Linked DNA regions of Homo sapiens: region 1 is linked to region 2. Evidence: promoter capture Hi-C in 16 types of primary human blood cells and fetal thymus (Javierre and others, 2016). All regions are on one chromosome and are shown on one strand. Each heading gives the region's core, a stretch centred on a gene start or on the middle of the fragment in contact. The rest is flanking DNA. Distances are from core to core; before and after follow the strand shown.

Evidence for each region. Contacts are between HindIII fragments. The CHiCAGO score rates a contact against its expected background, and 5 or more counts as called.
Region 1: a contact is called between a fragment that was not itself captured here and the fragment with the promoter of BOD1L1 in region 2, in 5 of 17 cell types (non-activated CD4 T cells, naive CD8 T cells, total CD4 T cells and 2 more). The highest score is 8.0, in non-activated CD4 T cells.

What each region holds. Positions count from the first base shown.
Region 1 is chr4:15,626,711-15,632,976 of GRCh38, forward strand. FBXL5 (F-box and leucine rich repeat protein 5) reads right to left here. Exons shown (of 11, transcript NM_012161.4): 6 at 3,956-4,081; 7 at 1,175-1,323; 8 at 163-245. Among named protein-coding and RNA genes, the nearest start is that of FBXL5, 26 kb to the right of the region's middle. The HindIII fragment of the contact is 2,216 bases long and covers 1,733-3,948 here.
Region 2 is chr4:13,623,012-13,629,782 of GRCh38, forward strand. It overlaps BOD1L1 (biorientation of chromosomes in cell division 1 like 1), which reads right to left and starts at 4,714. Exons shown (of 26, transcript NM_148894.3): 1 at 4,334-4,714. The coding sequence starts at 4,576. MIR5091 (microRNA 5091) reads left to right here and starts at 4,854; the gene lies at 4,854-4,946. RefSeq lists enhancers at 4,143-4,873, 4,711-4,870, 4,874-5,604 and a silencer at 4,371-4,570. The HindIII fragment of the contact is 7,220 bases long and covers 2,964-6,771 here.

The DNA of each region.
Region 1 (6,266 bases), core at 1,591-4,090, 2.0 Mb after region 2:
CCTATGAGTAAGAAGTGAAGAACTGGAGGGTGCTATCAAATTATACTCAGACATGACTGAGATTTGATAGTAAAAAATAATAGTATGATTAAACTGCAATTACATAAATGAAACCTTATAAAATAGTTTTTCATTATATTTAAATTGTTTAAAATAACTAACCTGTCAAATGCAGAATCTGAAATGTCAGTCTGGGTAAGATCCAGATGCTCCAGGTTAGGACAAAGCTCTAAAATCTGCCTAACCTAAAAGGCAAGAAATTGTCACTGTAAAGATCTGCAGAACTTCAGTTAGCTAAGTAACAGATGACTATTAGTAAACATAATCTAGTTCACAAACTTTTGTGAATATAAAAAAAAATCACTTGAATACTTGAAAAAAGTATAATAAAATATTCTGGGCTCAAATCCCTGAGAATCTCTTTTTTTTTTTTTTTTTTTTTGAGACAGAGTCTCGCTCTGTCACCCAGGCTGGAGGGCAGTGGCAGTATCTTGGCTCACTGCAACCTCCGCCTTCCGGGTTCAAGCGATTCTTCTGCCTCAGCCTCCTGAGTAGCTGAGACTACAGGCACACGCCACTACATCTGGCTAATTTTTGCATTTTTAGTAGAGATGGGGTTTCACCATATTGGCCAGGCTGGTCTTGAACTCCTGACCTCATGATCCACCCACCTCGGTCTCCCAAAGTGCTGGGATTACAGGCATGAGCCACCGCACCCGCCCAAGTATCTGTTTTAGCAGTTATGAGACTAAACCAGGATTTTTACATTTTTAAGGAACACTCAAGATTCTGATGTAGGAAGTCGTAATATCCACTTTTATAAAACAGTGATTTCATCTCATTTGCCCATCTTACCATGCCTTACATATTATTTAAAAAATCACATAAAACTGGGCTTTATCACTTAACATCTGTGAAACTGAATAAAATGTTTAACCTCTTCTAGTCAGTTTCCTCATCTGTAACATATAGGTAATGATAATTATGCTACAAAGATTGTTGTGAGAACTGCAATGAAATAATAAGTAACCTAGCAGTGTATGCCTACCCATAGGAAGGCACTCAATAATCATTTTTGGGTTTGTTTCCCCTTAATTAAACTCAGGAATGAGCAAACCAAACTCTTATCATGCTGTTTTTCTTAATACCCAAACTAGTGTTAATTTAAACATACCATTTTGCTGGAAACTGCAGAGCTGTATGCTAATACTAAGGTTTTTACAGAAGTACCAACATATGGTAGAACGTTATGAATTAAGCCATGGAGTAAACGTTTTTCCATTTGTGCAATGCTGATAGCAATTGATTCCTCCGCAGACTCTTCTGTAAAATGAATTCAAAAGTCCAAGAACTTGATAAACTGATAATAATTAAGCTACTCAAGCGCTCACCAAATTGTTAAATATGACATACTTTGTGCTATCCTTATACTTTCTTATGTAAACCATCCCATTTTTAGGCAATGAAAAGGTTTTGGAAAAAAATGTGAAAACTGAAAAGAACAGCAAAAGTTTTCAAGAGAAAAGAAAATATGATATCAAAAGAAAAATGATCCATAGTAAAACGTACTATCACTGATTCCACATAACTAAAAAGGGCACAAAGCTAGAAAAGATTTGAAACTCAACTAAATTAGCCTGATCATAATGAATCAAGCAAAGGAAGGTACTTTAGAATTTCTAAGAAGCTAAAAATGAGCATGGCTTTTGGTTTTACTTAATAACTTCTGTAAAGCTTGGATGTTTACAACAGAATGTACTACTGTAACATCCACCATGAAAACACCATAAACTCCAATTCGAAAAAAGGAAAAAACACACTACACTAAAAAGAATGAATAATTGTATTGTATTACCTTTCTCAGGATCCTATTGTTATTATTCTTACCTAAAGACCAATTTGAATGTCTTTAAACATAAAATGATTTAACAGAATAAGTTAAGGAAGTCTCATTTAAAACAAAACTAAGTATAGCAGACAAAAGGATATCAACTAAAAGAATTTGTTACTCATGGTTCCTTGTTTAGATATTATCCTAAATTCCTCCTTTAGCCAGACACAGACACACACACACACACGCACACACACACACACGAAGATAAAATATAAGGAGATAAAAATTACTTTAGTGAGCCCTACTATAATTTTATTCCCAAACCATTCTTTTGTTTCTGTGGCCCTCACTATCTAAATGTATACTATTTACTGTGAAAATTTTAAATTTTTAATTTTTTATTGATATACAATAATTATGCATATTTTGGGGGTACATGTGATACTATGGAACCTGTATACAATGTGTGATGATTAAATCAAGGTAACTGGAACTGTGAAATCTTTAAGAAAGTTAAACATTCTATGAAAAACAATAACTTCTTAGGACAAGTAAAAAGACAAGGCAGCCAAACCGAAAAAAGCACTGAAGTAAATGACAGTTTAGTCTTTAATAATCAACAGATATATTATCTAAAAAGGCTCAATCTTTACAGCGTTAACTTTTCCTTTTCAATATGAAGGAAATTGAGTCTTTCCTCTGGCTATCTTCAAGTATGGAGACAAATACACTGAATTTGTGAGAACCTTCAACATTCTTACCACGGGTATTATGAATTAATTTTCTAGAATGAATAAACTGAGACTTCCTTAAGTTGACATCTGAGCAAATATCTCATCTCCTTCAGGTCTTTACTCAAATTTCCCAAAGGACCTTAACTAATCGCTCAATTTAAAACTGCAATTTTAAATTCTTCTTGGCATGTTTTCCTTGTCTTATTTTTCTCTACAACACTTGTCACCATCTAATATGGAATATATTTTACCTGTATTTATTGTTTGCCTCCTGTCTCTAAATTTTAAGCTCAACAAGCGCCAGTTTTGTTTTGCTTTTTTCCATTTTGTTCACCATTAGATCCTTCATACCTAAAACAATGCCTGCCACAGGTAAGCACATCACCAAATCTATCAAACTAGAATAGACCTTTTCCTTATATAGGACATTTTGAATCTTTACATCAAAATGTGGCACATCTGCGTTTCATAAAAATAAACTACTTTAGCTGCTGATACAACAATCTTTATACTTACACTGTTACTTTCCACGTGTCTTTTTTCCACATTTAATTCTTTCGCCAGACCAAATTACTTTAAGCAAGTAACTTTATAAATAAAATTTCCTATAGTTTCAGTTTTACCAACTAGAAGAATGTCTCATCTGTTCATTTTTTACTATTTTACCATCTTTTAATAATTATTATCTAGAATATCCAAGACAGAATTTGTTTTCCTCCTCACACTTCCAAATAGCATCTCTCTGCACAAGTATGACAGCATTTTTCCATCATATACTTTAAATTAAAAATTATGTTTTCTAAATTCTCTCTCATTTGTGAGTTGTTTGGAGTAGCGATGAAGTCTTATCCATCCTTGAACTCTCCCACAGTGTTTAATGAATGGCTACATTAGTTTTTGTAATCCCTTACCATTTACAAACAATATTTATGTATATTACTTCTTAATTCTACAATAACCTTATTAGGCAAGTATTAAGACTATCTACAAACGAGTAAGTCGACTCAACAGTTTCATCCTATTTCCCTCAAGCCATAGATGACTCAATAGATGCTGTGCAACTGATCACTTGAAGTGGTGCTAAAATCACATTGTAAACTACAAAGCACTATAATAAACGTACATTATTTTCATAAGAAAAAAGGTACCATTTTCTGATTTTTGATTTTAATATAAAAACGAGAAATAATCCTATGCACTCTTTAAAGTACTTCAATTAATTTAAAATTTCATTATTATTCCTTCAAATTTTAAAAAGTAGTAGGCTTAGAAACACCAGTTTCTTTAGAAAACACAAAATACATAAATCTAATACCTAATAATTATAAGTACTTAATTATCAATTATTAAAACACTATGTAATAATTTTAATTCCAAACAAGCTTACCAGATTCATCAATGTCAGCATCTTCATCCCACTCATGAAAAGCACGACTTTCATCTTTCCTATTTTTCACCCATTCATCATCAGGTTCAGTATCAAGTTCAGTTGCGGGACCACTATACCAGTCACCTACTCAATGAATAAACAAGTAAAAGGTTCAAAATAATATCAGATTGCCTGCAATTATGAAAAACTAAGCTATTTACGATAAAAATCTCTACAAAGAGAAAACATCTGAGCCCTAGGCAATAAGCAACTGTTTTTTTTTAATACTTTTAAGTTCTACGGTACATGTGCACAACGTGCAAGTTTGTTACATAGGTATATATGTGCCATGTTGGTTTGCTGCACCCATCAACTCATCATTTACATCAGGTATTTCTCCTAATGCTATCCCTCCCCCAGTCCCCTACCCCCACCACAGGACCTAGTGTGTGACGTTCCCCACCCTGTGTCCAAGTGTTCTCTTTGTTCAATTCCCAACTATGAGTGAGAACATGCGGTATTTGGTTTTCTGTCCTTGTGACAGTTTGCTAAGACTGATGGTTTCCAGCTTCATCCATGTCCCTGCAAAGGACATGAACTCATCATTTTTTATGGCTGCATAGTATTACATGGTGTATATGTGCCACATTTTCTTAATCCAGTCTATCATTGATGGACATTTGGGTTGGTTCCAAGTCTTTGCTATTGTGAATAGTGCCACAATAAACGTATGTGCGCATGTGTCTTTATAGTAGCATAATTTATAATCCTTTGGGTATATACCCAGTAATGGGATGGCTGGGTCAAATGGTATTTCTAGTTCTAGATCCTTAAGGAATCGCCACACTGTCTTCCACAATGGCTGAACTAATTTACACTCCCACCAACAGTGTAAAAGTGTTCCTATTTCTCCACATCCTCTCCAGCATCTGTTGTTTCCTGACTTTTTAATGATCGCCATTCTAACTGGTGTGAGATGGTATCTCATTGTGGTTTTAATTTGCATTTCTCTGATGACCAGTGATGATGAGCATTTTTTCATGTGTCTGTTGGCTGCATAAACGTCTTCCTTTGAGAACTGTCTGTTCATATCCTTCACCCAGTTTTTGATGGGGTTGTTTTTTTTTCTTGTACATTTGTTTAAGTTCTTTGTAGATTCTGGATATTAGCCCTTTGTCAGATGGGTAGGTGGCAAAAATTTTCTCTCATTCTGTAGGTTGCCTGTTCACCCTGATGGTAGTTTCTTTTGCCATGCAGAAGCCTTTAGTTTAATTAGATCCCATTTGTCAATATTGCCTTTTGTTGCCATTGCTTTTGGTGTTTTAGTCACAAAGTCCTTGCCCATGCCTATGTCCTGAATGGTATTGCCTAGGTTTTCTTCTAGGGTTTTTATGGTTTTAGGTCTAACATTTAAATATTTAATCCATCTTGAATTAATTTTTGTATAAGGTGTAAGGAAGGGATCCAGTTTCAGCTATCTACATATGGCTAGCCAGTTTTCCCAGCACCATTTATTACATAGGGAATCCTTTCCCTATTTCTTGTTTTTCTCAGGTTTGTGAAAGAAGATGGTTGTAGATGTGTGGTGTCATTTCTGAGGCCTCTGTTCTGTTCCATTGGTCTATATCTCTGTTTTGGTACCAGTACCATGCTGTTTTGGTTACTGTAGCCTTGTAGTATAGTTTGAGGTCAGGTAGCATGATGCCTCCAGCTTTGTTCTTTTGGCTTAGGATTGTCTTGGCAACGCGGGCTCTTTTTCGGTTCCATGTGAACTTTAACGTAGTTTTTTCCAATTCTGTGAAGAAAGCCATTGGTAGCTTGATGGCAATGGCACTGAATCTACAAATTACCTTGGGCAGTATGGTCATTTTCACGATACTGATTCTTCCTATCCATGAGCATGGAATGTTCTTCCATTTGTTTGTGTCCTCTTTTATTTTGTTGAGCAGTGGTTTGTAGTTCTCCTTGAAGAGGTCCTTCACATCCCTTTAAGTTGTATTCCTAGGTATTTTATTCTCTTTGTAGCAATTGTGAATGGGAGTTCACTCATGATTTGGCTCTCTGTTATTGGTGTATAAGAATGCTTGTGATTTTTGCACATTGATTTTGTATCCTGAGACTTTGCTGAAGTTGCTTATCAGCTTAAGGAGATTTGGGGCTGAGATGATGGGGTTTTCCAAATATACAATCATGTCATCTGCAATCAGAGACAATCTGACTTCCTCTTTTCCTAATTGAATACCCTTTATTTCTTTCTCCTGCCTGATTGCCCTGGCCAGAACTTCCAACACTAAGTTGAATAGGAGTGGTGAGAGAGGGCATCCTTGTC
Region 2 (6,771 bases), core at 3,464-5,963:
AATGCTCAAGCCCCAGACAGCTGCATTGCCCCTTCAATTCCTTCACAGATGGCTCAAGTATCATCACATTGAAACCTACCCTGAACAGCTTATTCGAAATAAAACAGTAAGCCCATCCATCCCTCATCTTGCTTTTTTCCATAGGACCTACCATACATTACTTGTTGTCTATTTTTTTTTTCTACTAGGATGTAAGCTCCATAACAGTGGGATGTTTGGTTCACTGCTGTATCCCTGGCACCTAAAAAAATGACTGGTACATAAGAGTTGCTCAATGAATGTTTGTTGGGTGAATAAATTGACCAGGGGCCATTTATAACTAAGAAAGTGTCCAAAAAATCAGACTTTCTTACTTGACAAGAGAGGTACCATATTTACCTGGCTGGCGAGCTCCCTGAAGGGCCTCTTGATCATCCCTCCTCACACGCTCCAGATGCTAATCAGTGCAAAGGAGACAGAATGGCTTTGTAACCACTAAGCTTGCTCCAGAGATCTGGAAACTGGTAGTCTATAACGGAGGAGTCTTTGCAGTAGTTGGAGCTTAGGGTTGCCCATGGTTCCATTTCTTTGGGTGGGAAGGGCTGATTTGGTCTGTTACAGTCAGATCTCTCTCCTGGTTAAGGACTATCAATGACCCTGGACAGTTTGGAGGGGGGTTCTATGGTCTTCTGGTGTAGCAGCAGACTTTGGTACTTCTCATCCTGGTTTAAACACACTAAACTGGATGACAGTTTTGCTCTTAGCACCTGGCAGGTATCAAATGTCTTCATTCTTAAATATGCATGTGACAGACATAATCCACTATAACTCTATATGCTACAAGTTAAGACTTTTTGACAGAAAGCAGGTCAGTCTTTGAGGTTCAAGTGGCAGATGAAACTCAAGGATTCCATTAAAGTGATGGTTCTTTGCATGAACAGGGAATCTTCTACTTTGGCCCACTCATCATATTGATATGAATGTTATGTTCTGATGAAGAAAACTTTGGCTTTTTGGGAAGCAGGGGGGAATATATTTTTTTTTTTTTCAAATAAGAAAATGAAGTATAAAATGGTATTCAATGAGAACAAATCTTTTAAATCAAATTAAAATCTACCTAATTGCTAACTAAGGGAGTAGAAGAGAAGGAGAGAGTCATGGGGTAAAGGAAGTACCAGAACATAACCTGTAACATAACCAGGAGCAGGTACAGAGGTTAGTGGCAGGGAGGGGGAGAGAGAGAGAGATTTTGTGGGAGAGTTTAAGCTAGCGTCTGAGCACCAGAACTTCAACCATAGCTGAGTGTTCTTTTTTGTCTGGGAGGGTGTCATTTCAGTTCTAATTTCTCAAAGCAACAGAAATATTAGAAATTTTCATAATTATTAAATAGTATATGCAACTGTATTGAAAAATGTGTATTGTTGCTTTTTAAAAATTTTTGTTTTTTAGACCAAGTCTTGTTCTGTCTCCCAGGCTGGAGTGCACTGGCACAATCTCGGCTAACTGCAACCTCTGTCTCCTGGCTTCAAGCAATTCTCCTGCCTCAGCCTCCCGAGTAGCTGGGACTACAGGCATGTGCCACCATACATGGCTACTTTTTTTGTATTTTTACTAGAGATGGGGTTTCACCATTTTGGTCAGGTTGGCCTCGAACTCCTGACCTCTAATGATCCACCCACCTCGGCCTCCCAGAAGACCAGGGTTCTGTGGTCTTCTGGTGTAGCAGCAGACTTTGGTACTTCTCATCCTGGTTTAAACACACTAAACTGGATGACAGTTTTGCTCTTAGCACCTGGCAGGTATCAAATGTCTTCATTCTTAAATATGCACGTGACAGACATAATCCACTATAACTCTATATGCTACAAGTTAAGACTTTTTGACAGAAAGCAGGTCAGTCTTTGAGGTTCAAGTGGCAGATGAAACTCAAGGATTCCATTAAAGTGATGGTTCTTTGCATGAACAGGGAATCTTCTACTTTGGCCCACGGTGGCCAGGCATGAGCCACCGGGCCTGGCCATACTGTTGCTTTTTAAAGTTCCTGCATCTGTGGCTGAATATGTCTTATTACTAGAAGAAGGGTTGATCATCAATTCTATTCCTATTTCTAATTTTTATAGTCATGCGCCCTGAGAAACCTTGTTCATATAAACAAGTACTGTGCCTCGGAATGGAAGAGTTTTGTTGTAACAATATCATTCAATTCTTGACCTCAAAAAAGAGGCTAAGAACATTAAAATAGGTTCTTATTCCATGGTTCCTGAACTCACTGAAACTGTATATGTTATTAGATTGATTCTCATGAAATTGCCTATAGTTGACCATTCTGAAGTAGAAAAACAGCGTTTTAATGTGTTACTTGCGCATTTTTCTTGAGAGAAGGTCCTAACTTTCATTAGATGATCAGAGATACTGTGCTTCCCTCCTTCCCTCCAAAAAAGGTTTTAATCCTTTACTTTGAAGGGTCTGGCAGGGATATTATAGACACATACCAATAACATTTTGTGGGAATAGGATAATAAAAAAGTTGAGCCTCAGACATTGCAGCAGTACATTACAATTTTTAATTTGTATACATAATGATTCATGGGTTTCTGAGAACACACAGATTCATGGGTTTCTGAGAACAGCAAAGTAAAAATTCCACTTGTTGAATACGAATAACTAACTTTATTTGATAACATTTACCTGGCCATGTCTAACCTTTTCCCATTAAATAACAACAAAAATAATAAAGGCAATAGAAATTATTTCTAAAAGGTAGCAGTGCATATTCCTGAAGACAAAAGTAAAAAAAACTATACTTCCTAAATAGATGAACACTCCCAAGTGAATTGAATTCTCTGTGGTGCAAAACCTCCAATATCCCGAAAAACCACGTTTTACATAGTGGGCCCAGTATGAGTCCTTATAAAGGAAGATGTACCAGGATATTCAAGAGTTTCCCCAGAAGACATAGTGGAACTGTGTGCAGTTCACCTGAAAGCTTTAGAAGAAACTGTGGATGTTGTAAACATGCATTTCTCAAAGATACAAAGCTCCTCAGAACAACTAAACATACTATGAGAAAACCCTCGACCGGGCGCGGTGGCTCATGCCTACTGGGCGAATCACGAGGTCAGGAGATCGAGACCATCCTGGCCAACACGGTGAAACCTTGTGTCTACTAAAAATACAAAAATTAGCAGGGCGTGGTGGCACGCGCTTGTAATCCCAGCTACTTGGGAGGCTGAGACAGGAGAGTCGCTTGAACCCGGGAGGCGGAGGTTGCAGTGAGCCGAGATCACGCCATTGCATTCCAGCCTGGCGACAGGGCGAGACTCTGTCTCAAAAAAAAAAAAAAAAAAAAAAAAGGAAACCCTCATTTCATCAAAACTCCAATCCAATGGACCCAACCAGATTTAACAAGCAGACAAAAACAACCCCTACAAACCAGTTAATTTTCCAACATGCTTTCTGCTTCCAGAATTCTAGACTGTACTGTGGTTTTCCATCCATCTCACTGACTGCTCTTTCCTGGTGTCTTTGGCTAATTCTTTGCCAATCCAGCTAAGTTTACTTGTTCCTGCTAATGTCCCTTTCACTCTGACATTTGGTACAAAATCCCTTCCCCTTTCCAGCCTCTCTTTCTGGACAGGGAACCTTGTTGCTGTCCTTTCCCTTCTCTACATTACTCTCCTGAATCTGCTCTCTTTCCTGTCCTTTCTCCACTTCAGTATCTGCTGTCACCTCTCCTGCATCTTTTCTCCACTGAATGACTCGGTTCTCTCTACCCCACCTTCCTGTCCCTTCTTACCTTAGAATGGTGACATGGCCTAAGTTACCTAAATCAGGCAATCACTGCTAGAAACAATACTAAAGTCCTGTCTCAGGTTTGCCTCCTTATCTTTGCGCTCCCACCCCCACGATGTCCAGCAAAGCATATTACACATAACTTGATTCAATTACCATTTAGTCATTTCTCCAAAGGATAAAGGCCCTTACCGCCCAGAAACCTTCAAGAAAGAAGGCAAACATAACTTCGATACAAAGTAAAATCATCAGATATGAGAATGAATACAAAACTGGCTACTGTTAGCGCCACTGTTTCCAAACCAGTTCCTGTAAGAACAATGCCTTAGTCTTGCTCATCAGACCGGGGTAATCACTGTGCCGAAACCATGACTGGCACGTAGTAGGTACTTAAACACTAGTCGGTAAAACGAACCAAAGGACACGCTAAGGAATGAACACTCTGTGCTTTGCACAGTCCGTGGCACACAGCTGCAGCTCCAAGAGGAAGCCACTGCAAAAGAAGCGCGCCCTTGGGTCCTCCCCTTCCCTCGCAGACCCCCAAACCCGGCGCGCTCCTAACCTTGGTGTCCACGTCGGCCAGGCAGTCTCTGCGGAACTGGTCGAAGAGCCCCTGGCTCTTGAGGTGGTTCACGATCATGGCCACGAGCTGCGGGTCCCCGGCGCCCGCACCCGCGCCGCCCGCCCCGCCCGCGCCGGGGCCAGCCCCGGGGCCCGGCGGCGGCGGCGGTGGCTGCGGCTGCGGCTGCGGCGGGGGAGGCGGCGGCGCCGGAGGAGGCGGCTGCGGCTGTGGGTTGGTGGCCATGGTGGCCTGTGCCGGGGAGGGCAAGGGCCCTGACCGGCGGACGATCCTGGGAGGCGGCGGCTGCACTGGTCCCGCCGCCTGAGGGAAGCCAACGGGATGTTGTTACGGAACCAGCGGATCCAGAGCAACCCCGGAAGTGAAAGGGAACTGGGGGAAAGGAGGAAAAGACGGTGACAACATTGACGAAAGTCCGGCGACGGAGGCCGCGAAGAGCCAGTTTCGACCGTCGCCGGGCGCAAGCGCCCTCGCGAGGCCGAGCTGCGCCGGAAGTGGCGGCGACTGTGGCGACGGAGACGACAAGACTGTGCTGGTCGCGGGTTGTGGGGTTTAGGTCACCGGCAGGGGTCTGGAGTCCCTGGAGGTTAGGGCTTCGACCCGCGCGACACCTGGGGCCCTAGGTCTGAGCGGGGGCAGTGCGTTTCTGGCCCCGCTTCATCCGCGACGGCATTTTAGGCCTGCCTCTCTTGCTCCAGTTTCCCGGAGCAGTGCATAGAGATCCATAGACATTTGTAATGCGAACCCTACGTGGATCTGCTCATTCTAACTTCGCCCAACCCTCTTCGTTCTTAGCCTGTGATCCTGCACTATTCTTGTCCCAGCAGGTAGCTCCAAGTTCCTTCTGTCTCTCTTCTGCCTGCACATACCATTTCCCCGTGGGGGTCCCTTGTTTCTGGCAGTGTGCCTGTGGATTAGATCCGATCCCTCCAGCCCGTTCTTCCTATCTGTGAAGACAAATCGACAGGCTTTTATTTTTAGGAGATTTGCTATTGATTACTATGATTATAGCAGGTAAAACATCTATAGCACATATTATGTACCAAGCGTGGCGTTAAGTGCTTTTACATGTATTAACGCATTTAATCTTTGGACAAACACTAAGAGCTAGGTCTGATTACTGTCCCCAGTTTGCAAATCAGGGAACCAAGGCTCAGATAAATTAAGTATGTTGAGTAAGATTACACAGCTAGCAAATCACCTGCTTTTGGACTGCATCATCTTTGAAATTATTATTAGTACGTGGTCAAAGCAACATAAATATTAGAAAATTTCATAATTACTAAATAGTGTGTGTAACTTTATTGAAAAATGCATATTGTTGCTTTTTAAAGTTCCTACATCTGTGGCTGAATATATCTTATTAGTAGGAAAAGAAGGGTTGAGCATCAATTCTATTCCTATTTGTAATTTTTATAGCTGTGTGCCCTGAGAAACCTTGTTCATATAAACAAGTACTGTGCCTAGGAATGGAAGAGTTTTGTTGTAGCAATATCATTCAATTCTTGACCTCAAAAAATTAGATTTGATTATCTATGAGCTGACTTCAATTAGGCCCTCCTTCTATTTTATGGAAAGCAAAGAGCTGAAAACCACCTGGCTTGCCAAAGGATTTGTTTACTTAATCCTTATTTTTTCACTCTTTCAGATTCTGGGAAATATACCAGATAGGTTTTACCAAGATACCAAATGACTATGAATTAGACCTGATTTTTTCAATGAGGTGTACCTTTCACCTGATATACTGAAAGTTTGGAGAATATCTAAACATTTTTCATTTTCATAAATAGTTTTGGATAAGATTTATTTTTGTTATCAGGTGGTTAAATTATGTTTTTGTCAAAATTTGCAACTGCAGATTTAGCTCATTCAAGTTCAAAATCTTTGTCACTGGGCACAGTGTCTCACGCCTGTAATCCTAGCACTTTGGGAGGCTGAGGCGGGAGGATCGGTTGAGTCCAGAGTTCAAGACCAGCCTGGGCAACATGGCAAGACCCCACCTCTACAAAAAAATAAAAGAAATTAGGCGGTGTAGTGGCGTGCACCTGTAGTCCTACCTACTTGGGAGGATTAGGTGGGAGGATCACCCGAGCCCAAGAAGTCAAGTCTGCAGTGAGCCATGATGGGGCCAGTACACTCCAGGTTGAGCAACAGAGTGAGACCCTTCTCAAAAACAAGAAAAAAAAAGGTTTGTTAAGAATGTTAAATGTTTACCTTATAACCTAATTAACAGAGCCCATTTTCATTGTCAAACTAGACAAATCAGATTTACTTTAAATCAGAAACAATTTGACTTCATTGTTTCAATTCAGAGTATCCTGTGTGTTTTGAGGAGTTTGATGAAGATAGCAGAGAGGAGAAAGTCATGGATATGAATCTTAAAAGATTAATTACTATATGCAGTCAAGGCTGGGCGTGGC